2 separate regions of the Homo sapiens genome follow, and region 1 is linked to region 2. The links are contacts of gene promoters, found by promoter capture Hi-C in blood cells and fetal thymus (Javierre and others, 2016). All regions are on one chromosome and are shown on one strand. Each heading gives the region's core, a stretch centred on a gene start or on the middle of the fragment in contact. The rest is flanking DNA. Distances are from core to core; before and after follow the strand shown. Region 1 holds the start of MPZL1 (myelin protein zero like 1). Region 2 holds the start of ALDH9A1 (aldehyde dehydrogenase 9 family member A1).

Region 1 (4,930 bases), core at 4-2,503, 2.0 Mb after region 2:
CTATGGCATTTGAGATACAACTTCAAAAGGATCTGCTGACAGAAATAGGGCAAAGTGGTTCTGGTATTTTTTTTTTTTAAGTTTTTTTCTCACTAATGTTCTTATGATTTCGCTGTACTGCAATGTTAGCTGAAACAGCACAGATATCAGGAATGGCATTGTTAAGACTGACCTTAGACAAAAACCCTGAAGTGAGAGGTTACATTTTGGGTTCTCACCATACTCTTCCCCCGCTCTTGTCCTAATTGTCTAAAGCTTGCTTCCCTTCCTCATCGTATCAGCCTCCCACCTGAATCTTCCCTTTTCCTCCTTCACACTCATCTTTCTTGTGCCCCTGTCCCCCATTTTTCCCTTTTGTAAGCCATTTTCATAAGGATCCTTCCAAATATTTCCCCTATTGATTGGACAACCCGTAGGTGGCAGACTGTTCTGGGCCAAGGCAACCAAGTTGAGCAGGGCCAGCAATCAGTGTCGGGAACTTCTGCAGGGCACTTCAGAATCAGTGTTGGGAACTTCTGCTTTCTATTTTTCACGGACACAGACAGGAACACAGATATGCGAAAGCAAAACAATCAAAAAGCATTTTCATTTGTTTTTCAGGTAGTAGGAAAGAGTTCCAGATTCCCATCCTTCTGAAGCCAGGAGGGAGGTTCCTAAGAGGAGGTTAGGGCAAGATGGAGACTTCTTTTTAAACTAGTAGATTTCGCAAATTGCAACACATACATTATCTAGTCCACGCAAAGGACAGGCCTTGGGGACACGGCACGGGGAACGTGTTCCACCTGGACGACTGAATCAGAAGTCTCTCCCCCATCAATTGAACGCCTCATTATTTTTCTTTCTGTCTTTTCTTTCTTTTTAAGGTAAATGAATTGCTTCTTTTTCGTTAGGTGAGGCCGGCAGAGAACAAGAAGAGCTGAAACGGAGGCGAGGTTAGTACCCAGCAAAGACCTGTGGCGAGGAGAGACAATGAAGAGGACCACGGGACTGGACCCTGAGAAAGGCAGAGGAGACGCTGGCTGGTGGGGCCCGCAGGCGGACAGCCACGCAGGCAGGCGGAAGGCTCGGCTCGGCCTGGGACCGCTGCAGACCCGGCCTCCGCGCGGGGCCGAGGCGCCTGGGTGGGACCGAGGAGGCGGGGCCTTCCCGGCGGACGGATGATGGACAGCCTGACTCTCCAATCGCGTCCTTAAAAGGGTGCGGGCAGGCCAATGAGCGGACAGCGAGGGCCGGAGTGGGGCTGAGGCTTCGGTGCAGAGCTGGAGAGCCGCGGCTGGGACCGGAGTGGGGAGCGCGGCGTGGAGGTGCCACCCGGCGCGGGTGGCGGAGAGATCAGAAGCCTCTTCCCCAAGCCGAGCCAACCTCAGCGGGGACCCGGGCTCAGGGACGCGGCGGCGGCGGCGGCGACTGCAGTGGCTGGACGATGGCAGCGTCCGCCGGAGCCGGGGCGGTGATTGCAGCCCCAGACAGCCGGCGCTGGCTGTGGTCGGTGCTGGCGGCGGCGCTTGGGCTCTGTAAGTGATGCCAGGACCAGGGCTGGGGCCGGGGAGTGGGGCCCCCGGGCCCGACACACGCCCATCGCGGCGGTCGCAGGCCAGGCGCGCGCACTGAGAGCCGAGGTGGGGAGGGGGCGCGGCCTGCGCTCTCTGGGGCCGAGGGGACCCAGCCCATGGGGAACGCGGGCCTCCGCGACTGGCCGGGAAGGCGCAGAGCCTCTTTCTTCTCTTTCCTGGATCCTGGAGTGCGGAGGAGGAGGGGAGAGTGCTTTACCTTGCTCCTTCCCGGGGGGCGGTCCAGGGGAGCGGACCCGGCGGGCGGCTGCGGTGAGCCCTCGCGGCGCACCCTGCCCTCTCCTCGTGGTGACTCTGGATCGTCTAGGCCCTCCCGGATTCTGACTCAGGAACTAGGGTTCTGGCGTTCTTCACCTTTGGGAGGTGGCGGAAAGTTGCAGGTTTTTCATTTGTAGGGCCTTTGTTGATTTGTTTCCTGTTAAGCCAGGGTTTTGTTGTAAGTTCCCTTTCCCATGCTCTCATTCAGTTTTAAGTCTCCGTAATAAAAGAGTCTCATTTCCGTGGTCTGCAAAACGCCAATAAAAAAATATTGTTACTTCTAGGTTAGAATGCAAAGAGCTTGGAATACCAGTGAGATGGCCTGGCTTAAAAGAATTTGGTCAAATCCATCATAATTCCAGACGTAGCCACCATAATTTGACAAGACATAGAGCATTAAAAAGCATAATTTTCCTAAAGGAAAAAAAAAGCTCCTTTTTCTTACCAAATATTGTGACTCAAGCTTAAGGTAAACCTCGGGCTCAATTTATGGGAATTGGATGACTTGTTTTATGGACATCTGAAGTGGTATCTGCCACAGGACTTTTCTGTGTTGTTGTTCAAAGCAAAGTACTTGTTGCTGTCTCCGAATTTAGTTAAATAATAGTTATAAAGAGGGCCAGCTGCTAAGAAACCACGTAGATTTTTTTCATTCCCTTTGTTTTCAAAATGTCAGTTATGATTTAGCATCACAGTATCTGAATACCAGAGTTTACTCAGTAATTTCTTTCTTCATGGAAAAGTTCTTAATATAATCCTTGGATCAGGGAAACTAGGTGAAGTTCTGTTGGATCACCAACTGTTCCACTTAAACAGTGATTCCAGGGGCTGTAAAGCATAAATGTAAAAGTCTCCCTACCCTCCAGGGGTTGACAGATGATGACACACTTTGTGTAAGACACAATCCATTCTGTATTTTGTCTTAGAAAAAAAGGTTAAAAGTGTGTTTGTTGGTGGTGGTATTTGTGTTTAATCAAACAAGTAGAAAATAGCCTAAAATTAAGGTTTATCAGAAATATGCTTCAGACAGAATTGTTATGCATGAGAGGTCAGACATTGCTATGGAGGACAAAGCAGTTAGGGTGATCTTAATTAAAATCAGGGTATTAAACGTAGAAGGAGTGCAAAACTACATAGTAGTGAAAAGATCACTAGAGTAATAGCCCCATACAACTTGGACGTAACTCTTCAGTAATGAAGATGAATGTTGATATGTAAAAATCAGCAGCTGATGTTATTGGTTCAACTTAGAAAATTATTGAATCTAAAATTCTTGCCAAATCACCTCTTTTCTGGTCATGGATACTGCACATAAGAGTTTATCTTTTACAGGATAGCTTCTAAAGTTTTATCAAGACAGTTACTCAGCAAACATTCACTGAGCACCTTTTAAGTGCTTAACACTTAAAAGGTGGGAGGTTAGGTCTCACTGTGTTGCCCAGGCTGCTCTGGAACTGAAACTCCTGGGCTCCAGTGATTCCTCTGCCTTTTCCTCGCAAGCAGCTGGGGCTACAGGTGTGTGCCACTGTGTAGGGTCAGAAGCACATTGGTAAAGATGTACTGTGGGAGCTTGAAGGAGGGTCATTATCTCAGACTGTAGTTCAGGCTACTGGAGGAAGGGAGTTTAAACTGGGTAGGCATGGGGGAGGGGCAGAAGTACATACAGAGTTATGAATGAACCTGTTGGTAGTTCAGTATAGTGGGAGGTTGGAGTGTATATAAGGGGAATGGTGGGAGTTGAGGCAGGAGAGCCTGCCAAGGGCACCAGCTTACAAAGGGCCTTGTCTGCCACACTTAATCCAATGAGGATTTCTCTGTCTATTGAGATGTGAAGGATGGGTTAGAGTGGGGTGAGGCTGAAGCCAGAGAAGGCAGAGGACTATTGTAATAATCCCGGGGAGGATGATGAAGATCTGAATTCAAGCATTGGGCTATGAAGAGAGGACACATGTTGATGCGCCACTTAGAAAGTACGTTTGATAGAGCTTGGAAACATTGATGCAGGCTTGAAAGAGGAGGTGGATAAAATGATCATAGGTTTTGGGCTTGGGAAGCTGGGCATATTTTTGGCCTTTTCACAGATGGGGAAATAGGAGTCTTGGGGGAAGAAGATGATGGAGATACTTTTGAATATGTTGAGTTTGAGATGCGGGTAAGACATCCAAATGGAGATGGGCAGAAAACAATTGGATAGACAGTTCTGGAGGTGAGGAGAAAGTTCTGGTTGGAAATGGAGATTTAGAGAGTTATGTGGCTAATAGTTAAAGCTTGGATTGTTTGGATGAGGGCATCCAGGGAAAATGCACTGAAGAACATAGCAGAGAGCCAAAGACGGAGTTTTGGGGTATATGAAACCTGACAAAGAGTCTCTGTGAGTAAGAGAAAAACCAGGTGAGTTTGGTATTTCAGCATTGTCAGATGAAGAGAGATAAAATGTGATAAGAATTCACTGAATTTGGTAATTGAAATGAGCACATAGTATATGAGGACTAAATCTCAGTAATTTGTACCATCCATGTCAGTAAATGGAACCTCCATACATCTAATTGTGCAGGCCAGAAACCTAGGGTCCATCCCTGATTCTTCCCTGTCCTTCACATCCAATCAGTTCTCCCATCTTTAAAATGCATCTGGAATTGATGTTTTTTCTACCTCCACTCCTAGCCTTTTAGTCAAAGTCACCACCATTTCTTGCCTATATTACTGTGATAGCCTCCCAGCTGCTCTTCCTCTTTTTCCCCCTCTGGAGTCTTGCTCTGTCTCGCCCAGGCTGGAATGCAGTGGCACAATCTCGGCTTACTGCAACCTCCATCTCCCAGATTCAAGTGATTCTTCTTGTGCCTCAGCATCCCAAGTAGCTGGGACTACAGGCATGCACCACCATGCCTGGCTAATTTTTGATTTTTCTATTTATTTTTAAATTTATTTTATTTATTTATTTTTTGGGGGATGGAGTCTCGCACTGTTGCCCAGGCTGGAGTGCAGTAGCGTGATCTCGGCTCACCACAACCTCCACCTCCCTGGTTCAAGCGATTCTCCTGCCTTAGCCTCCCGAGTAGCTGGGACTACAGGCGCATGCCACCATGCCCAGCTAATTTTTG
Region 2 (5,367 bases), core at 2,594-5,093:
GGCCGATGTGGGTGGATCACTTGAGGTCAGGAGTTCAAGACCAGCCTGGCCAACATGGTGAAATCCATCTCTACGAAAAATACAAAAATTAGCCAGGCATGGTGGCACACACCTGTAGTCCCAGCTACTTGGGAAGCTGAGGCAGGAGAATTGCTTGAGCCCGGGAGGCGAAGGTTGCAGTGAGCCGAGATCACTCCACTGCACTCCAGCCTGGGCGACAGAGCAAGATTCCGTCTCAAAAAAAAAAAAAAATAAAAATAAAAAAAGGACGATGAGCTATAAAGAGTGCATTATAATTCAAAACAAAGCTTTACAAACATGAAAACCTGCCAAAGGAGATGTCCAAGAGCCAACATCCAGATGGGAAGTATTGAACAAAAACTTGTTTTATATACTAAGGTGAGCATGTGGAAATGTTTTTCCATTTTATAAAAACGTTACGGCCTAATGTTGCAACAAAGTCGAACTGCAAACATCACAAAGAAACCTCAGAGCAATGTCTGAGTTCTGGAAGGAAATAAATTGGAACATACCCTTATTATCCTGGCAGCCTCCAAAAGGATTCGGCAACGCTCCATGCCAGATTTTTGACTCCATATTTTAAAAGCAGCCTTTGCATTTTGAACAGCCAAATTTACTTCCTTTTCTCCTGAACATGTGAAAGTAGCTATCACTCGGCCTATAAAGAGCGGAAACATCAGTTTTAACTCAAATTGTTGCCACATATTTAAATAAAATATTATCTATCAATATTCTCTTAGTAGTAGTCTTTTTTTTTTTTTTTTTTTTTTTCTTGAGATGGAGTCTTGCTCTGTCACCCAGGCTGGAGTGCAGTGGCGCGATCTCGGCTCACTGCAACCTCTGCCTCCTGAGTTCAAGCGATTCCCCTGCCTCAGCCTCCTGAGTAGCTGGGACTACCAGTGCACGCCACTACGCCCAGCTAATTTTTTGTATTTTTTAGTAGAGACCGGGTTTCACCATGTTGACCAGGATGGTCTTGATCTCCTGACCTTGTGACCCACCCGCCTCAGCCTCCCGAAGTGCCGGAATTACAGGCGTGGGCTACCGTAACTTCTTGTTTTTATGTATGGTTTGATTTAGTGACCATCTCTATACTAGCAGGTTTTTTTGTTTTGTTTTTTTGTTTTTTAAGACGGAGTCTCGCTCTTGTTACCCAGGCTGGAGTGCAATGGCACGATCTTGACTCACTGCAACTTTTGCCTCCTGGGTTCCAGCAATTCTCCTGCCTCAGCCTCCCGAGTAGCTGGGATTACAGGCGCCTGCCACCACACACAGCTAATTTTTGTATTTTTAGTAGAGACGGGATTTCATCATGTTGGCCAGGCTGGTCTTACATTCCTGACCTCAAGTGATTCACCCACCTCTGCCTCCCCAAGTGCTGGGATTACAGCCATGAGCCACCACACCCGGCCTAGCAGTTCTTAACTGTATTTTGCGGTCATTGACATTAGGAGTCTGATAAAAGTTGCAGACCTCTCTCCAGAAAAATCTACTTAAACATATAACAGAATTACAGGAATGTCATGTCCCCTGCCCTAAACTCATCAAGGATTTAGAGTTAAGAACCCCTGCCCTCTACTATTTTACAGTTGAGTTTACTAACATTAACTTCTGATTAAGTTTTGCAACACTCCTAAACATTATCTCAGAATCTCAGGGGTCTTGTAAAATGAAAGTCAAAAGTAATCAGTCTATTGGGTTATAAACTCTGACTGTAAATCCCTTGTCTATATTCTATGTAGGTTATATCATACTACTTGATACTTGATAAATATAGTTAATAAGCAGTAATATCAGGATAAGGCAACCCTAAAGGAACATTTTTTTTTTCTCAAAAATTCCCAGATTTCCTTTTCTTATTCCACCTTTATTCCCTCTCCCTATTCTGGTGCAAATTATGAAACAATCAGTTTTTCTAGGCCCATAGCCCAAGGACTGTACTGCCTCTACCAACAAGAATTCTTTAAGTTTGCCAACTCAGCAAATCCTCTTCACAAGAACTCCTGGGACTCTTTCCAGGGAGATTTCACAAATCTGCAATTTCTGTTACAAACTTGAATAGCCAGCTGGTAAAGGCGGTGGCTGAGGATCACACACACTGTAGGCAATTAAAGCAAAGAGCAATTTTTCTTTCTTTTGTATCAGGATTAAGTCGGGGTAGAGAAGCTGTTTCCTCCTATATAAAGAAGAGATGTGATAATGCCTTCTGGCTCTGCCAAGTCACTGCTCTGTGGTTTAGTGTGGATGGTCAAATACTAAATTCTCCAGTCCCCTGCAAATCAGTTTTATTGCTCTGGCTACATTTTACACAAAATATTTACATTTTTCTCCCCACATATATTCCATAAAACCCAGCAAAATAAACACAACACAAAACCAAAACAAAAAGCCCCTTCTTCCTTATCTCTGTGACCTTCAGAGTTCCCAGAGTAAATCCAGTGCCTAGCACAGTGCTTAGCACACATTAAGCACTGGATTAAAAAGTTTTATTTCAGCAAGATGAATAAATTGTGGAGAGCTCACGTAGACCATGGTGACTATGGTTACCAATACTGCATCATATACTTGAAATTTGCTAAAAGAATAGATCTTAAATATTTCACTATCCAAAAAAAGCCATTAACTATGCAGAAGCAATGGATAATTAGATTGACCGTGGTAACCATTTTGCAAGGTATACATACATTACAACACGTTTTACACCTTAAGTATATACAATTTTTATTTGTTAATTATACTTCAATAAAGCTGGGGAAGAAAGTACTGAATAAAGGTGGGGTTTTTTCCTTTCCCAATTCTGATTAATGTGCAGAAATATTTTAATATTAGAATGTGGAGACAAAGTCCTCATTCGTAGTCATTAGAAACTATCTGTGAGCGTTCCTTCATTCCCAGCACAAATGATTATCTTCCCCACAACCCCGCCCCGTTCTTTTAGAATTCCTCTCCTATGCACACATTTGAAGACAATAATACATCAGTCCTGGTTTTAAAAGGGGGAACAGTTGGCTGGGCTTGGTGGCTCACGGCTGTAATCCCAGCACTTTGGGAGGCTGAGGCGGGAGGATCACCTAAGCTCAGGAGTTCGAGACCAGCCTGAGTAACATGCTGAAAACCCGTCTCTACTAAAAATACAAAAATTAGCCGGACATGGTGGTGGGAGCCTGTAATCCCAGCTACCAGGGAGGCTGAGGCGGGAGAAGCACTTGAGCCCGTAAGGTAGAGGGCGCAGTGAGCTCTGAGATGGTGCCCCTGCACTCCAGCCTGGGCGACAGAGTGAGACCCTGTCTCAAAACAAACAAAAAACAAACAAACAAACAAAACAAACAAAAAAGGAAGTTAACAGAGGCACGACTTCCCCCACCAGTACTTTGCGAACTCTGTTCTGGCCCGGGTAAAACAACTCACGATCCTACCACGCAACTCATCAGCTTTGCTTTTCCTCCCTACCCATCCCTGCCCGGAGGCACTCGCGTTGCCCCAGAATCGCTAGTTGCCTACACACACAACCTTAGACTCTCCACTGTCACTGTCTTGTGCTCAAGTCAACGCTGCAGAACACAGGAAACGGGGGCTGGCCGGGAAATCCGCGCATCCGGCCCCAGGGCGCCCCAGCCTCCCCGGCTCGTTGCAGTTACCGGTTGCTGGCTCGAAAGCTTTCTCGGTACCGGAGGCGTCCGCCGGCTCCACGCGGGCCCCGCCGCGGTAATTGAGCGGCTGCGACACGACGAAGGTGCCAGTGCTCATGGCGGCGACAGGAGAGGGCCGAAGACTGCGAAGAAGCGGGGAGAGCGCGGCCAGGCCTGCTCGGAGAAACATGAGTGGCGGACGCAGCTCCGCGGCAGAGGCTGACGGGCCGCGGGAGGGGCGGGGCCGCGGGAGGGGCGGGGCCGCGGGATCGGTTCTAGGAGATTTTAGGGGCAGTCACTCGATTCCTCTGCGGTCCAGGCCAGGCCCTCCCCTCGCCAGGAGGGTGGAGCAAGACACCACATTCTCCCCACCACCCCGCCATACCCCACACAGTCTCCAGGCGGGAAGAGGACTTCCTTCTTCGTGATCAATATTTGCGTAGCACTTTGCAAGTGTTTTCGGGTTCATCATTGCATGTAAGCATCCTAGGATCCCATTCTTAATCCTATCGCCTGAAGAAGGCAGAGGATTGGAGTGCCAAGAGTCTTTGGTGGTTACTTCACTGCTAAACCACCGTTTCTGTAATTGTATAATGCTTTTTAAAGGGTGACAGTAAAAAGCAAGGGGACTGTGAACGAGATAGATGATATTGTGATCTGAAACTGCTTTTTAAATTCTTAAAGAGAGACTGGGCGCTGTGGCTCTCACCAAGGCTGGAGGATCGCTTGAGCCCAGGAGTTTGCGGGCAACAGAGAGAGATCCCGTGTCTATAAAAAAATAAAATAAAAATAATAAAAATTGGGCCGGGCGCGGTGGCTCACGCCTGTAATCCTAGCACTTTGGGAGGCCAAGGCGGGCAGATCACCTGAGGTCAGGAGTTCGAGACCAGCCTGACCAAAATGGTAAAACCCCGTCTCTACTAAAAATACAAAAATTAGCTGGGTGTGGTGGCGGGCGCCTGTAATCCCAGCTACTTGGGAGGCTGAGGTGGGAAAATCGCTTGAACCCGGGAGACGGGTTGCAGTGAGCCGAGACTATGCCATTGCACTCCAGTCTGGGTGACAAGAGTGAAACTCAGAAAAAAAAAAAATTATCCAGGTGTGGTGGCACACGCCTGTGGCCCCAGGTACTTGGGCGGCTAAGGTGGGAGGATCCCCTGAGCCCCGGGGGTCCAAGCTTGCAGTGAGCTATAATCGTGCCACTGCACTCAGGCCTGGGCAACAGAGCGAGACCCTGTCTCAAAATAAATAAATTCTGAAGGAGCAATGTAAATGCTATTAATGACAAATATTGATAGAAACAGAAGCCTAACATACAGAATACGAAGAGCAAAGGCCACAGGAAAAAGTGTCAGGAAACAAAATGCCTTCTGTAAGACAAAGCAGCCACCCAGAGGCACTCACAGGTCTGTCAGCTGAGGGATCTTGCACAAAGGTTCATTCTTCTCACCAAACTTCCATGCACCTCCAGTAGAGACTTTGACAAACAGAAAGTAATTGGCAATTTGGACATTTCTTTTAGGATTGTTTCTCTTCTGGGGGCTGCTGTCTTTCTCAATGTTTTTTCCTTTACCTGCCAGCTCACCAGCGCAATATTAGGGAGTGTGGTTTTCAGGTTTAGAGTATATATAATGTATTCTGATCAAGTTTTCTGGCACTCTATACCAGTTTGTTCACTTTTTCAGTGCTACTGAGATGTGTAGGTCTTGGTCCTCAG

What was found. Contacts are between HindIII fragments. The CHiCAGO score rates a contact against its expected background, and 5 or more counts as called.
Region 1: the fragment with the promoter of MPZL1 here is called in contact with the fragment with the promoter of ALDH9A1 in region 2 in 3 of 17 cell types (fetal thymus, activated CD4 T cells and total CD8 T cells); the score reaches 10.6 in fetal thymus.

Annotation. Positions count from the first base shown.
Region 1 is chr1:167,720,729-167,725,658 of GRCh38, forward strand. MPZL1 (myelin protein zero like 1) reads left to right here and starts at 1,254. Exons shown (of 6, transcript NM_003953.6): 1 at 1,254-1,514. The coding sequence starts at 1,424. RefSeq lists silencers at 894-1,263, 1,654-1,723, 1,754-1,893 and an enhancer at 1,582-2,082. The HindIII fragment of the contact is 2,037 bases long and covers 254-2,290 here.
Region 2 is chr1:165,694,719-165,700,085 of GRCh38, forward strand. ALDH9A1 (aldehyde dehydrogenase 9 family member A1) reads right to left here and starts at 3,844. Exons shown (of 11, transcript NM_000696.4): 1 at 3,660-3,844; 2 at 534-679. The coding sequence starts at 3,840. It also overlaps the pseudogene CA14P1. RefSeq lists enhancers at 3,580-3,809, 3,653-4,235, 4,100-4,279 and a silencer at 3,840-4,029. The HindIII fragment of the contact is 1,150 bases long and covers 3,676-4,825 here.